7 separate regions of the Homo sapiens genome follow, and all the other regions are linked to region 4. The links are contacts of gene promoters, found by promoter capture Hi-C in blood cells and fetal thymus (Javierre and others, 2016). All regions are on one chromosome and are shown on one strand. The core of a region is centred on a gene start or on the middle of the fragment in contact, and the rest is flanking DNA. Distances in the headings are between cores, read along the strand shown. Region 1 has its middle 12 kb from the start of ZNF267. Region 2 has its middle 15 kb from the start of STX4. Region 3 has its middle 58 kb from the start of ZNF267. Region 4 holds the start of AHSP (alpha hemoglobin stabilizing protein). Region 5 has its middle 4.3 kb from the start of FUS. Region 6 overlaps ZNF267 (zinc finger protein 267). Region 7 overlaps ZNF267 (zinc finger protein 267).

Region 1 (2,700 bases), core at 142-2,641, 330 kb after region 4:
GTGTGATCAAGATATTACGTTATATACAGAAATTATCATAGTTGAAAATCTTACCATTTTTCCTTAAAGCATCAAATACAATTTATAAAACACAAAAGGGAAAGAAAGCCTATGGTGCTGTCTGCATTTCATCCTGGCATAGGTGAAACTCTAGCCTCTCATTTGGCTTTTGGTGGCATACGTGGGCAGGCAGCCATGGTTTTTCAGTGGTTTTGGCTGTAGTAGGGCAGTCACTGGATAAAAGTTTTCTGGTTTTATTTTTTTGCCTTTGCCTATTGGTGTATCTGAGTTGCCAGTTTCTTTAGCTCCAAGACTACAGTATATGGGCAAAGAAACCCGTGTTTCACCCCACTCTGTTATCACATCTTTCTTCGGTTCACGAACAGTATGCTTGCTTTCTTCCACCTTTTAGAGCTTTCTCCATTTGGTTTCATGTATAATGTCCAGGGATTTTAGTTGTACTTATTGGGAAGAATAGAGACATGTATGTCTAGTCTGTCTTCCCCAGAACTGAAATGCTTGGTTGTGAATGGATTAAACTGAGCTATCTCTAATTTGCCCATTATCCAAGCAGAAATATCAAGTTACTGATATTAGTTCCCATCTGAGGCTCTACTCCAGGTGGTGGCATCCCTTCCTGGGCACTGGGGCCTTGGCTGAGGCAGCAGGGAGAGATGCTGCCACTCAGGTCTTCAGCTCCCCTCTAGCATAGTGATGTCACTACCTGTGGTGGGGAATATGATTAACAACAAAGTCTCTTGCCAACTCAGGAAATCTCTCCGGAAAGATAGAAGAGAAAGAAAACAGTTTCATTGAAGAATCATTAAACGGCATTGTGATGCACAAAACAGATAATAACCTAGCACATTGCAAGAAAGAAGGAAATCTCACCCTTGTGCATAGCCAGGCAGCTACAACCAGTGCATGCGTGTTCCCGAGATAAACAGTAACCAGTCCTCAGGGAAGGGACTTGACAGCACTGTTTTTACATGTCCCTCAAGGGTACCCACTGTGTTCACTAATCACATTTATGACAAGAAAAGACCAGTGTCTCATAGTTTATGGCAGGAGTAGGTTAGTAAGTTAGAGCCAGGCACTGGCGGAAGCTGGGCTCCTACCCTCTCATGGGAACTTGCTCCCTTAATGATTCCATTTTAGAGAGATGGCTCCCAGGCCCTTGAGAAAGACAGTCCTGGTTGGAAGTTGGTAAGCGGCTTACTTAACTTTTGGAGACTTCCATACGTCACAAGGGGACAGAGAAGAAACTCATAGGGACAAGTTTTCTTTTAAAAATGCTCTGAAAGAAAAAGGCAGGGTTCCTTTTTCCTCTTTCACTGGGACAAATTTGTTTAATTGGTGATTACCCTTGTATCTGCCAATGGTTCAGTGACCCCCCATCTTCTACTCTCCAGTCTTACCTCAGTTCAGCCACTCCCTCCTGCTCTCTGGTACTCAGCCCTGTGCCTTCCAGCCACCTTTCTCCTTATATCATCAATCCTGTTTCCTAAACTCAGGGATTTCCATGCTCTGTCGGGATCCTGCCTCACTGCACTGCCTCCTGGACGCTCTCTGCAGGCTCTGAGTTGGGGCAGCCAGGGGGTCCCCTCCCTTGGATTCAGCCTCCAGGCCACTGTCCTGTGCCCCTATCAGATACTTTCTAGCATCTGGACACATTTAGGTCACATAGTGGATCTGGCTTTCTACTTGTTTGATGCTGGAGGGAGTCTGGATCTTGTTCTTTCACATACATAGAAGGCAAAGCTCAAAACTGATTTTGAAATTCTTTGTTATTAATTTTGGACTGAGATAAATTCTCTATTACTTTATAGTGACACATATATCGTAGCTCAAAGTTTAGTAGTTAGAATTTTAGATTATTATTTTCAGTACTGTGATTTCCCGTATTTAATCAACTTATAGGAAAGGCATGATAAAGAGATTATCTCATGTTTGAATACCCTTTTCTTTAATTTTTGGATTAGCTCTCTTCCCCCACCAACTCGCAATCTTTCTGCTCTAACCACAGGCACTTTTGGCAGCCATGAATTCTTATTCTGGGCAACAGGAGTGGCTCCACAGATGATGAGTCTATGGCCTGTTATACATGGAGCTCTTGCAAGCAAGTCCTGGTGACCACAAGGTGACCCAAGGCCCCTTCTCAGGCCAGATCGCTATGCCTGAAACAAAGGAAGAACCCTTCAGGGGAAGGAATATTTAGCCTGAAAATTCTTTTGTTCACTCACTTTTCAGGTGTCTTTATCCATTATTGAGCATCATAAATATCCAGATGCACAGATGCTTCCTGATATGTCCATGAGTTTAAAGATTGGACATTACTTCGCCCAGCAATCCTCGTTTTCAAACTTGCCAAGTAAGGTTTTATCATCTCCCACCAACAGAAACAAGGTCATGCTTAGGCCTTGGTGGCATAGAGGGAGGGTCTCTGAAAGTCACTCAAATATACACTCTGAGTAGTTTCAAGGTGTATTCACTTTTCTCTGTCCCTTGTAGGCCAGTCCTTGGAGAGACTAGGAAATCCAGAGTTTCCTACAAGAATGGGGATTCCTTGGAAGAGAGTTTCACCTTGAATCAAGAAAGAGGAATCACATACTTTCAAAGGAAATTTCTCATGATCTCAAGATCTCAAGAACCAGGGGCAGAAGGAAAAGCTGGGCTGACACAATGGTGGTGGTCCTGTCT
Region 2 (2,700 bases), core at 125-2,624, 480 kb before region 4:
GGAGTTTGAGACTAGCCTAACCAACATGGAGAAACCCCGTCTCTACTAAAAATACAAAATTAGCCAGGCATGGTGGTGCATGCCTGTAATCCCAACTACTTGGGAGGCTGAGGCAGGAGAATTGCTTGAACCTGGGAGGCGGAGGTTGCAGTGAGCCAAGATCACCCATGGCACTCCAGCCTGGGCAACAAGAGTGAAACTCCATCTCAAAAAAAAAAAAAAATGTAGCTTACCTGAGGGAGTCAGTAGGCTCAACTACAGTTAAGTCTAACGTCATGGTTATGTCTGAAAAGAATTATGGGTATGCTGTTGACCCATGGATCTGAATGGAGTAAAATACGTAAGTTCAGTTTTGGAGGGAATTGCCCTGCTTCCCCTGCCTAACACCCCCTCACCCTGACAAAAAGCCACCAGGTTAAATCTTGACCATGAGTGTTCAATACTTAGTATGATTTTTAGGTCCCCAAGTTTCTTTCTTTTTTTTTATTTCGGAGACCGGGTCTCACTCTGTCACCCAGCCTGGAGTGCAGTGATGCAACCACAGCTCTCTATAACCTCGAACTTCTGGGCTCACACGATCCTCCTGCCTCAGCCTCCCAAGTAGCTGGGACTACAGGCCCATGCCACCCCAGCAGGCTAATTTTTGTTTTTCAAATTTTTTTGAAACAAAATCTCACTCTGCCACCCAGGCTGAAGTGCAGTGGCACGATCTTGGCTCACTGCAACCTCCGCTTCCTGGGCTTGAGTGATCCACTTACCTCAGCCTCCCAAGTAGCTGGGACTACAGGTGTGCGCTACCATGCCCGGCTAATTTTTGTATTTTTTTGGTAGAGACAGGGTCTTGCTATATTGCCCAGGCTGGTCTCGAACTCCTGAACTCAAGCGATTCACCTGTCTTGGCCTCCCAAAGTGCTGGCATTATAGGCGTGCAGTGTACCACCATGCCCAGCCTATTTTTGTTTTGTTTTGCTTTGTTTTGTTTTGAGATGAAGTCTTGCTCTGTCACTCCAGCTGGAGTGCAGTGGCACAATCAAGCCTCACTGCAGCCTCTACCTCTAGGGCTCCAGTGATCCCCCCACCTCAGCCTTCTGAGTAGCTGGGACTACAGGCATGCGCCACCACACCTGGCTAATTTTTCTATTTTTTTCTGGAGAGGATTTCAGCCTGTTGCCCAAGCTGGTCTTGAACTTCTGGTCTTAAGGAGTTCTCCCTCGTTGGCTTCCCAAAGTGATGGGATTACAGGTGTGAGCCACCATGCCCAGCCTAATTTTTGTATTTCAGGTTTTTTTTTGTTTTGTTTTGTTTTGTTTTTAGTAGAGATGGGGGTCTCTGTATGTTGCCCAGGCTGGCCTCAAGCAATCCTTGCCTCAAGTGATCCTCCTGCCTTAGCCTCTCAAAATACTGTGATTGCAGATGTGAACCACCATGCCCGGCCTGGGTCTCCAAATTTCTTTTTTTTTTTTAGAGACGGAGTCTCGTTCTGTCACCCAGGCTGGAGTGCAGTGGTGTGATCTCGGCTCACTGCAAGCTCTGCCTCCCAGGTTCACGCCGTTCTCCCGCCTCAGCCTCCCGAGTAGCTGGGACTACAGGCGCCCGCCACCATGCCCGGCTAATTTTTTTTTGTATTTTTAGTAGAGACAGGGTTTCACTGTGTTCGCCAGGATGGTTTCGATCTCCTGACCTCGTGATCTGCCCGCCTCGGCCTCCCAAAGTGTTGGGGTTATAGGCGTGAGCCACCGCACCTGGCCATGGGTCTCCAAATTTCTATGGGCATGAAGGAGACTGAGAAAGCTACTCTACTTCAGAAAGACATAACCACCAGTGTCCTCTCAATTGTGGCCAAGGAGAATAAGTGGAAAAGGGTGGTTTACTCTAAGGGCAGAGCCAAGAACATGGTGAAGAATGAACTAGGGAACTCTTCCCACTCCCAGGGAAAAGTGGGGGTTCTTCTCAACATCTGCCCAGCAGCACTTTAGACTTAGTGGGGCCCAGAGCCTGCTGTGTGTCTCCTGTCCTTCCTTCCTTTTTTTTTTTTTTTTTTTTTTTTGAGACAGAGTTTCACTTTTGTCACCCATGTTGTAGTGCAATGGCACTATCTCGGCTCACTGCAACCTCTGCCTCCTGGGTTCAAGCGATTCTCTTGCCTCAGCCTCCCGAGTAGCTGGGACTACAGGTGCATGCCACCACGCCTGGCTAATTTTTGGTTTTGGGGTTTTTTGTTTTTGTTTTTGAGACGGAGTCTTGCACTGTCGCCCAGGCTGGAGTGGAATGGCACGATCTCGGCTCACTGCAACCTCTGCCTCCTGGGTTCAAGCGATTCTCCTGTCTCAGCCTCCTGAGTAGCTGGGACTACAGGGGCCCGCCACCACGCCCGGCTAACTTTTTGTATTTTTAGTAGAGACCGGGTTTCACTATGTTGGCCTGGCTGGTCTTGAACTCCTGACCTTGTGATCTGCCCCCCTCGGCCTCCCAAAGTGCTGGAATTACAGACGTGAGCCACTGCGCCTGGCTAATTTTTGTATTTTTAGTAGAGACAGGTTTTCACCGTGTTGGCCAGGGTGGTCTCAAACTCCTGACCTCAGGTGATCCACCGGCCTCGGCCTCCCAAAGTGCTGGGATTACAGGCATGAGCCACCGCACCGGGCCCTGTCCTTCCTTCTGAACGGGAGTGTGCTCTGCTGTTCTCCTGTCCTTGTTCTG
Region 3 (2,700 bases), core at 132-2,631, 400 kb after region 4:
AAAAAAAAGGCCAAATAGCCAAGGTAATCCTAAGCAAAAAGAACAAAGCTGGAGACATCACATTCCCTGACTTCAAACTATACTATACAGTGACTAAAACACCATGGTACTGGTCCAAAAATAGACACACAGAAGAATGGAACAAAACAGAGATCTAGAAATAATGCCATACACCTTTAATCTTCTCATCTTCAATAAAATTGACCAAAACAAGCAATGAGGAAAAGACTCCCAATGCAAAAATGGTACTGGGATAACTAGCTAGCCATGTACAGAAGAGTAAAACTGGACCCATCCCTTACACCATATACAAAAATCAACTCAAAGTGGAATAAATACTTAAATGTAAAATCTAAACCTATTAAAAACCCTGAAGACAACCTAGGAAATACCATTCTGGACATGGCCTTGGCAAATATTTTATGATGAAGACACCAAAAGCAATTGTAACAAAAAGAAAAATTGACAAATGAGACCTAGTTAAACTAAAGAGCTTCTTCACGGGAAAAGGAAATTATAAACAGAGCAAACAGACAATCTACAGAATGGGAAAATAGTATTTGTGAACTATGCATCTGACAAAGGTCTAATATTCCGCATATATAAGAAACTTAAATACATGTACAAGCAAAAACAAAAATGCCCATTAATAAGTTGGTAAAGGACATGAACAGACACTTCTCAAAAGAAGACACACACAGCCAACGAGCATATGAAAAAAATGCTCAACATCAGTAATCATTAGAAGAATGCAAATCAAAACCACAATGAGATACCATCTCTCACCAGTCAGAATGGCTTTTATTAAAAAGTCAAATAAAAAAAGATGCTGTCAAAGTTGTGGAGAAAAGGGAACGCTTATATACTGCTAGTGGGAATGTAAATTACTTCAGCCACTGTGGAGAGCAGTTTGGCAATTTCAGAAAGAACTCAAGGCAGAATTACCATTCAATCTCACAATCCCATTATTGGGTATATACCCAAAGGAATATAAATTGTTCTACCATAAAGACACATTCACATGTATGTTCATCACAGAACTATTCACAATAGCAAAGACATGGAATCAGTCTAAATGTCCATCAGTGATAGACTGGATAAAGAAAACATAGTACCTATACACCATGGAATACTGTACAGCTATAAAAAATAGTATCGTGTCCTTTGCAGCAACATGGATGGAGCTAGAGGCCATTATCTTAAATTAACTAGCACAGGAACAGAAAACCGAATATCACGTTTTCATTCATTAGGGGGAGATAAACATTGAGTATGTATGGATACAAAGAAGGGAACAACAGACATCAGGACCTACTTGAGGGTGGAGGGTAGGAGTAGGATGAGGACAAAAAGCTACCTCTCAGGTACTATGTTTATTACCTGGTTGATAAAAGAATCTGTATGCCAAATTCCTGTGACACACAAGTTACCTATATAACAAACCTGCACATGTACCCCTGAACCTAAAATAAACTTTTTAAAAAGAAAACAAGAAGAAAATCAAAGTAATAGAGTACAAAACCGGATACTAGAGAAGGGAGTAATGTAGGCAAAAAGGGCCAAAAACTGGTTTAGCACAGGTAGAAAATGAATAGAAAAATGAGAGAAGTCAGTCCTTTCTTGTGAGTAATTACTTTAAGATAAATGGGTTAAACTATTTAATGAAGACCACAGAATGAATAATAGAAACCATCGTCTAATCATATGCTGTCTACATAACATTGAAAAGCTCAAATAGTTTAAAAGTGAAAGAATCAAAAACGATATTACATGCAAATAGTAATCAAAGGAAAGGTGGTTAGTATACTCACATCAGAAAATAACAGGCTTCACATCAAAGTTGTAACAAGAGACAAAGACAATGTATTGATAATAGGGCCAATCCAGTAAGAAGATATAACAATTATAAGCATATGCATATATTACAGAAGAACCCTCAAATATATGAAAATATATTAAATATACAATATGTTAAAAATGGACAGAATTTAAGAGAAAATGAACAATTCTACAGTAACAAATAAATACCTCAATTCCACATTTTCAATAATAAATAGACACCAGCCATCAGGCAGAACATCAATAAGTAATAGGGGACTGGTAGAACGCTATAAACAAACTAGACCTAACAAATATGTATGAAAAACTCCACCCACCCCCACAAAAAAAGCAGAATACTTTCTTTTCAAGTGCACATGGAACAATTTCCAGGAGACATTATATATTATTAGGTCACAAAACAATTCTCAATTAATTTGAAAATGATTAAAGGAAATCAAAGAATTTTCTCTGGCCAAGTGGAATAACATGAGAAATCAATATCAAAAGGAAAACTAGAACATTTGTAATAGATTTAAATAAAACAATACACTCAAACAGAGGGACAAAGAGAAATCATAACAATTTTTTTTTTGAGATGGAGTCTCACTCTGTCACCTAGGCTAGAGTGCAGTGGCACAATCTCGGCTCACTGCAACCTCTGCCTCCCTGGTTCAAGCGATTCTCCTGCCTCAGCCTCCCGAGTAGCTGAGATTACAGGTGCGTGCCACCATGCTGAGCTAATTTTTTGTATTTTTAGTAGAGATGGGGTTTCACCATGTTGGCCAGACTGGTCTTGAACTCCTAACCTCAAGTGATCCACCCACCTCAGCCTCCCAAAGTACTGGGATTACAGGAATAAGCCACCACATCCAGCCCATA
Region 4 (2,700 bases), core at 187-2,686:
TGACAGAAACATTCTGTATCTTAACTGCGTTTGTAGTTACACAAATCTGTTATAAAATTAATAAACTAGGCCAGATGCGGTAGCTCACACCTGTAATCCCAGCACTTTGGGAGGCCAAGGTGGGTCGATCACTTGAGGTCAGGAGTTCGAGACTAGCCTGGCCAACATGGTGAAACCCCATCTCTACTAAAATACAAAAATTAGCTAGGCGTGGTGATGCACGCCTGTAATCCCAGCTACTTGGGAGGCTGAGGCAGGAGAATCGCCTGAACCTGGGAGGTAAAGTTTGCAGTGAGCTGAGATCGCATCACTGCACTCCAGCCTGGGCCACAGAGGGAGACTCCCTCTCAAAAAAAAAAAATTTAATATACTGTACACCAAAAGGAAGTCAGTTTTGCTGTATATTGATTAAAAAATGCTACAACCAAAAAGGCAAATCAACAAAGCTTTATGAGTGTATAGGCACCTATGAATGTTGGGTTTTGAATGGAAAAAAAAAGTGACAGGAAATATACAATGTTTAATGCTGGTTACTTTGGAGGGGGCAAAAATGATTCAGTTTTTCAGTGTACGTTTTTGTATTGTTTTAATTATTTCAATTAGTATATAGTGATTTTGAAATTTGAGAAACATCTACTGAAAATGGAAAATATCTGGAAAAATATTTAAAAAGAGGAAAAAGAGTATTTCTGCTTTATTGGGTACCTGTTGACAGGGTAGTAAACAAGACAAATCCATCTCCATTCTTTTTTTTCTTTTGAGATGGAGTCTCGCCCTGTCACCCAGGCTGGAGTGCTGTGGTGTGATCTTGGCTCACTGCAACCTCTGCCTCCTGGGTTCAAGCGATTTTCGTGCCTCAGCCTCCCAAGTAGCTGAGACTACAGGTGCCCGCCACCACGCCCGGCTATTTATCTCCATTCTTATGGAGCACAGCGTGGTGGAGTTCAGTCCACACGCTTACAGGTGGCTTATCTGCAAAATGTGTCTAAAAAGAAATTTTATAGGATAAATATTTTGTACATGTTTGAAACAGTGCTTGGCACAAATGAATAAATGTAATGCAAGCTGCTATTAATACATCATCTCCGAATTGGGAGAATCATTGCGATCACATCGTTGTGATTACACAAAAGCCTCTGTCATGTAATAGGGCTCAGTAAACGTCAATTTCCATAGCATTTCGAGCCTGGATACTGAAATATGGGGCAAAAAGCAGGAACATGCCCCTGGTTTGGCTCTTGCCTTCTTGCATTTCCTGGGTTTCCTCATTTATCTTTTTTTTTTTTTTTTTTGGCCTTGTTATCTTTCTACCTTCAGGGAAGCCTCTCCCTTCTTCTCCTCCCTAGAATGACCTATCACCCTCCTTCAGGACCTAGATGCAGGGCGTTTCTATCTTAGGCTGACACTTGACTCCTTGCCTACATCTATAGCTTGGCACAGAGAGATTCACGCACCCTCAAGAGTGTGGGTGAGACATATACAGCCTGTTAGACCTGAAGGTGAGCCCAACCTGGGAAAATCGTGACCTCAGAGCAGGGCAGGATGTGAAAGGTTTTGGAAAGGAGATAGCCCTGCAGGGCAGGAGGGATTTTTAAGGGGAGGAAGTGGGTTGGGGGAAATACCCAGTGAGGAGGGAAACAGATATGTAAATTCTACCCTTTTCTCTACCCAGGCAGATGGCTCTTCTTAAGGCCAATAAGGATCTCATTTCCGCAGGATTGAAGGAGTTCAGCGTTCTGCTGAATCAGCAGGTGAGTCCAAGCTTTCCATTTCAAAGGACTGGCCTGGAGACTGGGGGGTGCCGGGGAAGTGGAGGAAGAGGATAATTGGAGCTGGTGAAGTAATGGTGGAGTTGATGGAAACAACGAGAGACACGGGATACAATGCAGAGGAAAGAGAATGTGAGAGTTGGTGCTGTGGCACTATTCTAGTATTCCCGAATCCCATTGCTGACCACATTCTCCCTTGCCAACTGCCTCTCCGCAACCCCCCAGGTCTTCAATGATCCTCTCGTCTCTGAAGAAGACATGGTGACTGTGGTGGAGGACTGGATGAACTTCTACATCAACTATTACAGGCAGCAGGTGACAGGGGAGCCCCAAGAGCGAGACAAGGCTCTGCAGGAGCTTCGGCAAGAGCTGAACACTCTGGCCAACCCTTTCCTGGCCAAGTACAGGGACTTCCTGAAGTCTCATGAGCTCCCGAGTCACCCACCGCCCTCCTCCTAGCTCAGGGACCCAGCCCCTCCTCTCTGAGAAACTCTGACCTTCATGTCCTTAGGCTGTGCTCCTGCCACTCTACCCTGACACCTCAATAAAGACCAGTGCTGGTTTTGTTGGACTTCCTGGCTTCTCTTTCATGGTCTGTCCTGACATGTGGAGGCACTCGGTCCCTTTCCTTCCGCCCTCCTTCTTAGATATGCTCTTGGAAGCTTAATTCCTTACAGCAGAGGTTAGCAGCCTTGAGTGACCACCGGGCAGCGATTCTAAACTAAAACAGGCTGAACGAGGGCCAGGAAGGCGGGACTAGAGAGAGTGCAGAGCTGCAGGGGAGGGGGTGGCAGAAACAAGAAAGGGGGATAGAAGTCCTCCAGACATTGTCCTGTGACCTGCTTGTCGAGGAGGAAACTGTTGGAAGTCTCCCAGTCTTGTTCATCCTGCGCCAGGTCCACCGCCTCGACTTTTCAATCCCCTGTCCTTA
Region 5 (2,700 bases), core at 87-2,586, 350 kb before region 4:
GAACCTGGGAGGCGGAGGTTGCAGTGAGCCGAGATCGCGCCACTGCACTCCAGCCTGGGTGACAGAGCAAGACTCAATCTCAAAAAAAAAAAAAAAGGCCGCTGTCATCACCACCGAGACCAAGAAGGCCACGAGACTCAGCACCTTCCTCAAGATTTCCTGGGCCAAGGAGCCAGTGCTGGTCTTGTCCTCTGTCATCCGGAGCCTCACTGTAATTCTACCCCCACTTAGTCCCCACACCAAGTACTCCATCATGATCAACGAGGCAAGGCCCTACAACTACCCAGTGCCTGTCTGCAATGATGGGAACATGCCCGATGTGCCCAGCCACCCCCAGGACCCCCAAGGCCCCAGTTTGGAGTGGCTGAAGAAATTGTGAGCACCTCCACTGCCAAAGGAGGACCCTCCCATGGCTCCCACTAGAAATGTGAAAACCAACCTCTCCCTGCTCAAAAAAAAAAGAAAAGAAAAAGAAAAATTGCATTAAATATTTGATCTAGGCCAGGCGCAGTGGCTCATGCCTGTAACTGTAACTCTAGCACTTTGGGAGGCCGAGGCAGGAAGATTGCTTGAGGCCAGGGGTTCAAGACAAAACTGGCCAACAAAATGAGACCTTGTCTTTAAAAAATAAATTCTGGGGCTGGGCGCAGTGGCTCATGCTTGTAACAGCACTTTGGGAGGCCGAGGAGGGGTGGATCACGAGGTCAGGTGTTTGAGACCAGCCTGGCCAACATAGTGAAACCCCGTCTCTACTAAAAAAAAATACAAAAAATTAGCCAGGCGTGGTGGCGGGTGCCTGTAATCCCAGCTACTTGGAGGCTGAGGCAGGAGAATCGCTTGAACCTGGGAGGCAGATATTGCAGTGAGCCGAGATCGCGCCATTGCACTCCAGCCCAGGCAACAGTGCGAGACTCCATCTCAAACAAATATATATAAATATAAATAAATATATATATATATGTAACTTCCTGGCACGATGGCACAGACCTGTAATCCCAGCACTTTGGGAGGCCGAGGCGCGTGGATCAGGAGGTCAGGAATTCAAGACCAGCCTGGCCAAGATGGTGAAACCCTGTTTCTACTAAAAATACAAAAAATTAGCCAGGCGTAATGGTGGGAGCTTGTAATCCCAGATACTCGGGAGGCTGAGGCAGAGAACTGCAAACTCCGGAGGCGGAGGTTGCAGTGAGCTGAGATTGTGCCACTGCACTCCAGCCTGGGTGACAGAGGGAGACTCTGTCTCAAAAAAACAAACAAAAAAATTAAATAAATAAATTAAAACTAACTAACTAAATAAATATCTGGATATCTGAGCTGGGTGCAGTGGCTCATGCCTCTAATCCCAGCACTTGGGAAAGCAAGGCAGGCAGATCATTTGAGGTCAGGAGTTCGAGACCAGCCTGGCCAACATAGGGAAACCTCATCTCTACTAAAAAAATTAGTTGGGTGTGGTGGTGCACATCTGTAATCCCAGGTACTCAGGAGGCTGAGGCAGGAGAATTGCTGGAACCTGGGAAGTAGAGGTTGCAGTCAGCTGAGATTGCAGCACTGCTCTCCAGCCTGGGTGACAGAGTGAGACTCTGTCTCAAAAAAAAATCAATATCTGATATACGTGTTTATTTTTTTATTGAGATGGAGTCTTGCTCTGTCGCCCAGGCTGGAGTGCAATGGCACAATCTCTGCTCACCGCAACCTCTGCCTCCCTGGCTCAAGCAATTCTCCTGCCTCAACCTCCCGAGTAGCTGGGACTACAGATGCGCGCCACCATGCCCGGCCAATTTCTGTATCTCTAGTAGAGATGGGGTTTCACCAGGTCGGTCAGGCTGGTCTCGAACTCCTGACCTCATGATCTGCCCACCTCAGCCTCCCAAAGTGCTGGGATTACAGGTGTGAGCGAACGCATCTGGCCCAATATCTGATATACATGTTAATTGAAACTGGGTGTGGTGGTCACACCTTTAATCACAGCACTTTGGGAGGATTCCCTTGAGCCTAGGAGTTCAAGACCAGCCTGGGCAACATAGCAAGACCCTGTCTCAAAAAAGAAAAATTTAACATTGACTTTCCTGTCAGAGATAGGAAGTAAATAAGACATTTATGGTGAACTTAAAGCACATATGGCAGCTAAAGGTGACAGTGTCTCACTCCAGCTGACCCTTGCCCTATGGAAGTGGGCCTGGAATGGCCCACTATTTTTAGTGTTGGCAACTAGTTAAAAAAATTAAAACATTCGAGGCAGGTGGATCACTTGAGATCAGGAGTTCGAGAACAGCCTGGGCAATATGGTGAAACCCCGTCTCTACTAAAAATAGGAAAATTAGCTGGACATGGTGATGCATGCCTGTAATCTCAGCTACTCGGGAGGCTGCAGCACAAGAATTGCTTGAACCCGGGAGGCAGAGGTTGCAGTGAGCTGAGATCACGTCACTGCACTCCAGCCTGGGTGACAGAGTGAGACTCCATCTCAAAAAAAAAAAAAAAAGAAAGAAAGAAATGGCCATTTGATTTAGTCTTTCAGAGTCACATATTTTTTTTTTTTTGAGGCCGAGTCTCATCTGCCACCATGCCCAGCCCAGAGTCACAGCTGGAGCCTGAACTCTGCCTCAGTGTCTTCCCCACTTGTGCCTTTGTCTTCGCGGTTCTGCCTATTATAGCCTTTCCTCCCTTGCTGCTTGGCAAACTTCTACTTATCCAGTAAGC
Region 6 (2,700 bases), core at 139-2,638, 360 kb after region 4:
TTCCAAATGCTGACTTAGACATAACTGTCTTCTCCAGTCTCTGTATCTGTAGACTTTAAATGGCTGGCAAAGGGTGTGATCTTTCAGGACAGTGGTTGGTGGTCCTCACTGTGAACGAAAAGTATTTTTGTTGTGATTAGAGTATTGGGCGTAAGGGACTCTGTGCTGTGTCTGCTTCCTCTAGCTGAGTGCTATTGATAATGGGTCTAGGAGGAGCAACATCAGCATTGACAGGGGACTTGTTAAAGAAGCCAGTTCATGGAAACTTTCCAAACCTGCAGAATCACATTACTTAGAGGGGGCCCAGAATACCAAATGATATGTATGCGTATTGAACCTTGAGAGGCAATGCTTAGCTAAGTGATTCTCAGCCCAGGCTTCTAAGTAGGGTCACATAACCAGTTTGAAGATCTATGGTCACCTGTATCTTCCCCCACAGATTGTTTTTTTATGATTATATTAAGATTATGATTTACTGTTCCCCTCCGCCCATATCACAGCAATGATTATGGGCCCATCTGTGCATTAGCACTGGTACCAATTTGTCTTATTACAGACGATGCTAACTTCATTCACTTGGTGCAGGTGCTCTCTGTCAGATTCCTTCGCTATAAAGTTAATCATTTTTCTCTTTGTAATGAGTATCTAGGAGGGAGGATTTACTGAGTGATGTCTATAAACCATCACATTTAATCCAGAGACTCCCATTTCTTTTTGGTTTCCCTTTGCTTGTAGCTTTCTTTGCAGAGTAAAGGCTCTCACATTTGTTGACAGGAGATAACAGCTTTTAAGACTGGAAGTTCTGAAGCAGGTCTCAGTTCTGTAGGTTTCCATTTTATTTCATCTCATGTCACAAGCATATGCTTATTTATTCTCTATATTTTCAGAGAAAGAACAAGAATTAACATATAACAAATATGTCTATTGTCTTAAAATTCTAAAATATATAATAGCACATAGAATAAACATAACAAAAACTTGAAAAAAAATACCAGACTCAGAAACAAGAGCCTTTACTTTATTTCATTGTATGTATTGGTCTTTATAAAGGCATCACAAAAAAGGCATCACCCACAAAGAGTTTTATAGTTTTTATACAATTTAAAATATTTTTAAATTTTATTTACACAGAAATATTATCTTACTTTTAGTGTGTATATAGTTACCATTATGTGCACATATGCACATAAAATGAAAGCATTATTCGATCACTATTGTGTGGCTGCTTTCTTGTTTTCGTTACTCAGTTACGAAATCTTCTCTGAACATTCTGTTAAGGTTGTCTCTGTATATTGGCCGGTATGTCCCTTTGAGATAAATTCTAAATCAGATAAACTGAGGCAAAATACAAACTACTATGTAGCAAATATTTGGAAAATAATTTTTATATAAGAGGAAGAATATAATTTTTCTCAGATTATTTATTGGGTTTTATATATGTAAACAACTTTTAGGATGATATCTGATATATTGTGCATGTTCAAAAAGGATTACTACCATTCTAGCTGTTATAACTTGTAAATTTCATAAAACTCTCAGTTTCACATCATGCCTGAATTCTTTCCTCAGTGTTCGACCTCTCTGCTATTCAAAAGTGGCTTTGGGGCCTGAAGCATTAACACTACTGGTGAACTTGTTAGACATGCAGATACTCAGCCAGCCATGGTGGCTCATGCCTGTAGCCTTAGCTACTCAGGAGGCTGAAACAGGAGGATCGCCTGAGCCCAGGAGGTTGAGGCTGCAGTGAGCCAAGATTCAACCACTGCACTCCAGCCTGGGTGGCAGAGCGAGACCCTGTGTCAAAATTAAAAATTAAAAAATATGGAAATGCAGAAACTCAAAATCTAGATCTCCTGAATCAGACTCTGCCTTTGAAGAAGATCTCCAGTTTATTGTTGTATACTATACAATTTGAGAAGTATGCCTCTAAGTCACCATGACTTTTGCACCTGAGAATTATACACAGCTGATTCTGGATGATGTAAATATAGCACCCAAAAATGTATATTCCTGTGTTGATGCCTTAGTTTTATATTTTACATTTGATATAAATATCTACACTAGTTTTGTGGATTTTATGTTATTTTCTTTCCACAGAGTTTGAGACTACATTAGAAAATATTACTGTGTTAAAAATGATCTTACTGAATAATTCAGGTCACTCATATATGTCAGAACCAATAACTGTCATTTCATCTTGGGACAAATGAAGAACTCTGCCATGGCCACATGGTCAGTGTATTCTTTATTTTTATTTCAGGGACTGTTGACATTCAGGGATGTGGCCGTAGAATTCTCTTTGGAGGAGTGGGAACACCTGGAACCAGCTCAGAAGAATTTGTATCAGGATGTGATGTTAGAAAACTACAGAAACCTGGTCTCTCTGGGTGAGGATAACTTGCCTTCGGAATATCTAATAACTAAGAGTTTTATTTTCTTTTCAGAATGTCCCTTGGGATCTTGTGCTTTGTATGAGTTAGTTTTAGATTCTTGTTTTCAGGAAAAAAATAGGGGTTTTGTTGAAGTAGAAAAAATTTCATAATGTTTGATTTTGACATTCGCCTTTTTATTTGAGGTGATGTACAAGTTTCACTCTAGTCGTGATTCTAGAAATTGGTTGACATAAACTATTGTTGCTTACACTTTAAAATCCAATTTTTTTTGTTTGTTTTTGATTCAGTCAGATTTGCAGAAGCTCAG
Region 7 (2,700 bases), core at 123-2,622, 380 kb after region 4:
AGCTACTTTGGTTCTTTTTTTTTGTTTTCATTGGCATGGAACATTTTTCCATTCTTTTATTTTTCAGTCTATGTGTATCTTTATAGATGAAGTGTATTTCTTGTGGGCAGCAGATAATTGGGTCTTCCTTTTTCTTTTTTTCACCCATTCTATGTCATCTAATTGGAGTGTTTAGTGCATTTCCATTCAGCATTATTATTGATAAGTATGTGTTCACTCCTGCCATTTTGTTATTTGTTTTTGCATCTTCTCTTTCTTTTGTCCTTCCTTTCTGTCTTCATTTTAGTGAACATGATTTTTCTTGGTGGTATGATTTAATTTCTTGCTTTTTGGTTTCTGTGTCTGTTGTATGTTTTTTTATTTGAGGTTACCATGAAACTTACAAATACTATCTTATAACCTATTGTTTTAACTGCTGACAACTTCACACTGATTGCCTAAGTGAACAAATAAGCAATAAGAAAACTAGTAAAAACTCTACCTTTAACTTTGCTTCCCCATTTTTCAACTTTTTGTTGGTTCTCTTTATGTCTTATTGTACTGTCTTTGTCTTGAAACATTGTTGTAGTTGTATTGAGTCATCATTGAGTATTTCTACTTGAGTATTTTACACACCACAGTTACCATATTATAATACTCAGTTTTTCTCTGTGCTATTACCAATGAGTTCTGTACCTTCAGATGACTTCTTATTGTTCATTAACATTCTTTTCTTACAGATGGAAGAGAATGCCCCTTAGTATTACTTGTAGGACAGGTCTGGTTTTAATGAAATCTCTCAGTGTTTGTCTGGGAAGGTCATTTTTTTCTCCTTCATGGCTATGGAATATTTTCACGGGATAGACTATTCTAGTGTAAAAGCTTTGCTACTTCAGCACTTTAAATATGTCATGCTATTCTCTCCTGGCCTGTAAGATTTCCACTGAAAATCTGCTGCCAGACGTACTGGAGTTTCATTGTATGCTGTTTCTTTTTTCTTGCTGCTTTTAGGATCCTTTATTCTTAATTTTTGGGAGTTTGATTATTAAATGTCTTGAGGTAGTCGTCTTTGGGTTCAATCTGCTTTGTGTTCTGTAACCTGGTTGTACTTGGATATTGATATCTTTATAGATTTGGGAAGTTCTCTGATCGTATTCTTGAAACTTTCTACCCCTGTCTCTTTCTCTCTTTAAGGCTAACAACTCTTAGATTTGCCCTTTTCAGGGTGTTTTCTAAATCTTGTAGGCATACTTCATTCTTTTTTGTCTTCTCTACATATTTTCAAATTGCCTATGTTCAAGCTCAATAATTTTTTCTTTTGCCTGATCAGTTTTGCTATTAAGAGACTGATGCATTCTTCAGTATGCCAATTGCTTTTTTAACTTCAATTTCTGCTTGATTCCTTTTAATTATTTCAACCTCTTTGTTTGATTTATCTGATAGAATCTGAATTCCTTCTCTATTTTATCTTGAATTTGTTTCCTCAACACAACTATGTTGAATCATCTGTCTGAAAAGTTACTTATTTTGTTTCTCCAGGATTGGCCTCTTATGCCTTATTCAGTTTGTTAGGTGAGGCCATATTTTACTGGATGGTCTTAATGTGTAGATGTTCATCTGTGTCTTGGCATTGAAGAGTTAGGCATTTATTGTAGCCTTCGCAGTCTGGGCTTTGTGTCCACCCTTGTTGGGAAGGCTTTCCAGAATTTGAAGGTACTTGGATCTCAAACTCAATAACGTTGTTCTTGCAGACTCATAGAGGTACCATGTGGTTGGTCTTGGTTAAAATCGATGAATTATCTGGATTACCAAGCAGAGACTCTTGTTCTCTTCCCTTAGTTTCTTCCAGACGAATGGAATTTCTTTCTCTATGCTGAGCTACCTGGAGCTGGGGTGGGATGACATAAGCTTCCCTGTTGCCCCCACCACTGGGACTGTGCTAATTTAGACTTGAAGTGAGCACAGCACTGGGTGTCACCCAAGGCCCAGTGTAATTACTGCCTGGCTACCACCTAAGTTTACTCAAGACCTTAGGCCTCTACAATCAGCAGGTGGTAACCAGCCAGGTTTGTGTCTCCTCAGGGCAGTGAGTTCCCTTTGGCCCCAGGTAGGTTCAGAGATATTGTGTGGGAGCCAGGTATTGAAGTCAGAAGCCTTATTTATCTCGTGTTCTATTCTACTGCAGCTAAGCTGGCATTCAAATTACAAGACAACATCCTTACCACTCCTCCCTCCCCTTTCTGCAGGCAGAGGAGCCTCACAATGTGTCTGCCACCACCACCAGCCCACAGGGGTTTCCACTGGGCTATCACTGATGTTCACTCAACACCCAAGCACTCTTCAGTCAGCTTATGATGACTGCTTCCACAACTGGGACTTACTCTTTGGTGCAGGGCAGGTCCAGAAATGCTGACTCAGGGACCCTAAGAGTCTGCTTGGTGCTCTACCCCACTGTGGCCAAGCTGGTACCTCAGGTGCAAGACAGAATCCCATTTACTTTTTCCTCTGCTTTGCTCAAACAGAAGGTGTCTTTCACTATACCCACCACAGTGGGAAATGTTCTGGGTCACACCTGAAGCCAGCACATCTCGGAGTCCAATGTTCATGATGTGTTATTGGGGTACCACTGTAGGTTATTCAGAGACCAGCAGCTCCTAAGTCAGAAGGTGATGAATCCTGCCAGGTCTCTGCTGTGATAGGGCAGCACTGGGTTCATTGTAG

What was found. The method cuts DNA at HindIII sites, captures the fragments that hold promoters and counts their contacts. A CHiCAGO score of 5 or more calls a contact.
Region 1: a contact is called between a fragment that was not itself captured here and the fragment with the promoter of AHSP in region 4, in 9 of 17 cell types (naive CD4 T cells, activated CD4 T cells, total CD4 T cells and 6 more). The highest score is 9.6, in naive CD4 T cells.
Region 2: a fragment that was not itself captured here is called in contact with the fragment with the promoter of AHSP in region 4 in 5 of 17 cell types (total CD4 T cells, non-activated CD4 T cells, naive CD4 T cells and 2 more); the score reaches 5.7 in total CD4 T cells.
Region 3: a fragment that was not itself captured here is called in contact with the fragment with the promoter of AHSP in region 4 in 7 of 17 cell types (naive CD4 T cells, total CD8 T cells, total CD4 T cells and 4 more); the score reaches 7.5 in naive CD4 T cells.
Region 5: a contact is called between a fragment that was not itself captured here and the fragment with the promoter of AHSP in region 4, in 1 of 17 cell types (erythroblasts). The highest score is 8.9, in erythroblasts.
Region 6: a fragment that was not itself captured here is called in contact with the fragment with the promoter of AHSP in region 4 in 9 of 17 cell types (monocytes, fetal thymus, non-activated CD4 T cells and 6 more); the score reaches 9.2 in monocytes.
Region 7: a contact is called between a fragment that was not itself captured here and the fragment with the promoter of AHSP in region 4, in 8 of 17 cell types (naive CD4 T cells, total CD4 T cells, total CD8 T cells and 5 more). The highest score is 8.0, in naive CD4 T cells.

What each region holds. Positions count from the first base shown.
Region 1 is chr16:31,860,865-31,863,564 of GRCh38, forward strand. It overlaps the pseudogene RBM22P13. Among named protein-coding and RNA genes, the nearest start is that of ZNF267, 12 kb to the right of the region's middle. The HindIII fragment of the contact is 9,415 bases long and covers 1-2,700 here.
Region 2 is chr16:31,046,728-31,049,427 of GRCh38, forward strand. No RefSeq gene overlaps it. Among named protein-coding and RNA genes, the nearest start is that of STX4, 15 kb to the left of the region's middle. The HindIII fragment of the contact is 4,212 bases long and covers 1-2,700 here.
Region 3 is chr16:31,930,654-31,933,353 of GRCh38, forward strand. No RefSeq gene overlaps it. Among named protein-coding and RNA genes, the nearest start is that of ZNF267, 58 kb to the left of the region's middle. The HindIII fragment of the contact is 8,251 bases long and covers 1-2,700 here.
Region 4 is chr16:31,526,464-31,529,163 of GRCh38, forward strand. AHSP (alpha hemoglobin stabilizing protein) reads left to right here and starts at 1,437. Exons shown (of 3, transcript NM_016633.4): 1 at 1,437-1,499; 2 at 1,673-1,751; 3 at 1,995-2,340. The coding sequence starts at 1,677. The coding sequence ends at 2,228. The HindIII fragment of the contact is 1,316 bases long and covers 445-1,760 here.
Region 5 is chr16:31,174,446-31,177,145 of GRCh38, forward strand. It overlaps the pseudogene NDUFA3P6. Among named protein-coding and RNA genes, the nearest start is that of FUS, 4.3 kb to the right of the region's middle. The HindIII fragment of the contact is 8,665 bases long and covers 1-2,700 here.
Region 6 is chr16:31,882,238-31,884,937 of GRCh38, forward strand. ZNF267 (zinc finger protein 267) reads left to right here. Exons shown (of 4, transcript NM_003414.6): 2 at 2,261-2,387. Among named protein-coding and RNA genes, the nearest start is that of ZNF267, 9.8 kb to the left of the region's middle. The HindIII fragment of the contact is 4,868 bases long and covers 1-2,700 here.
Region 7 is chr16:31,911,474-31,914,173 of GRCh38, forward strand. The region is part of intron 3 of ZNF267 (zinc finger protein 267); the gene reads left to right. Among named protein-coding and RNA genes, the nearest start is that of ZNF267, 39 kb to the left of the region's middle. The HindIII fragment of the contact is 1,026 bases long and covers 860-1,885 here.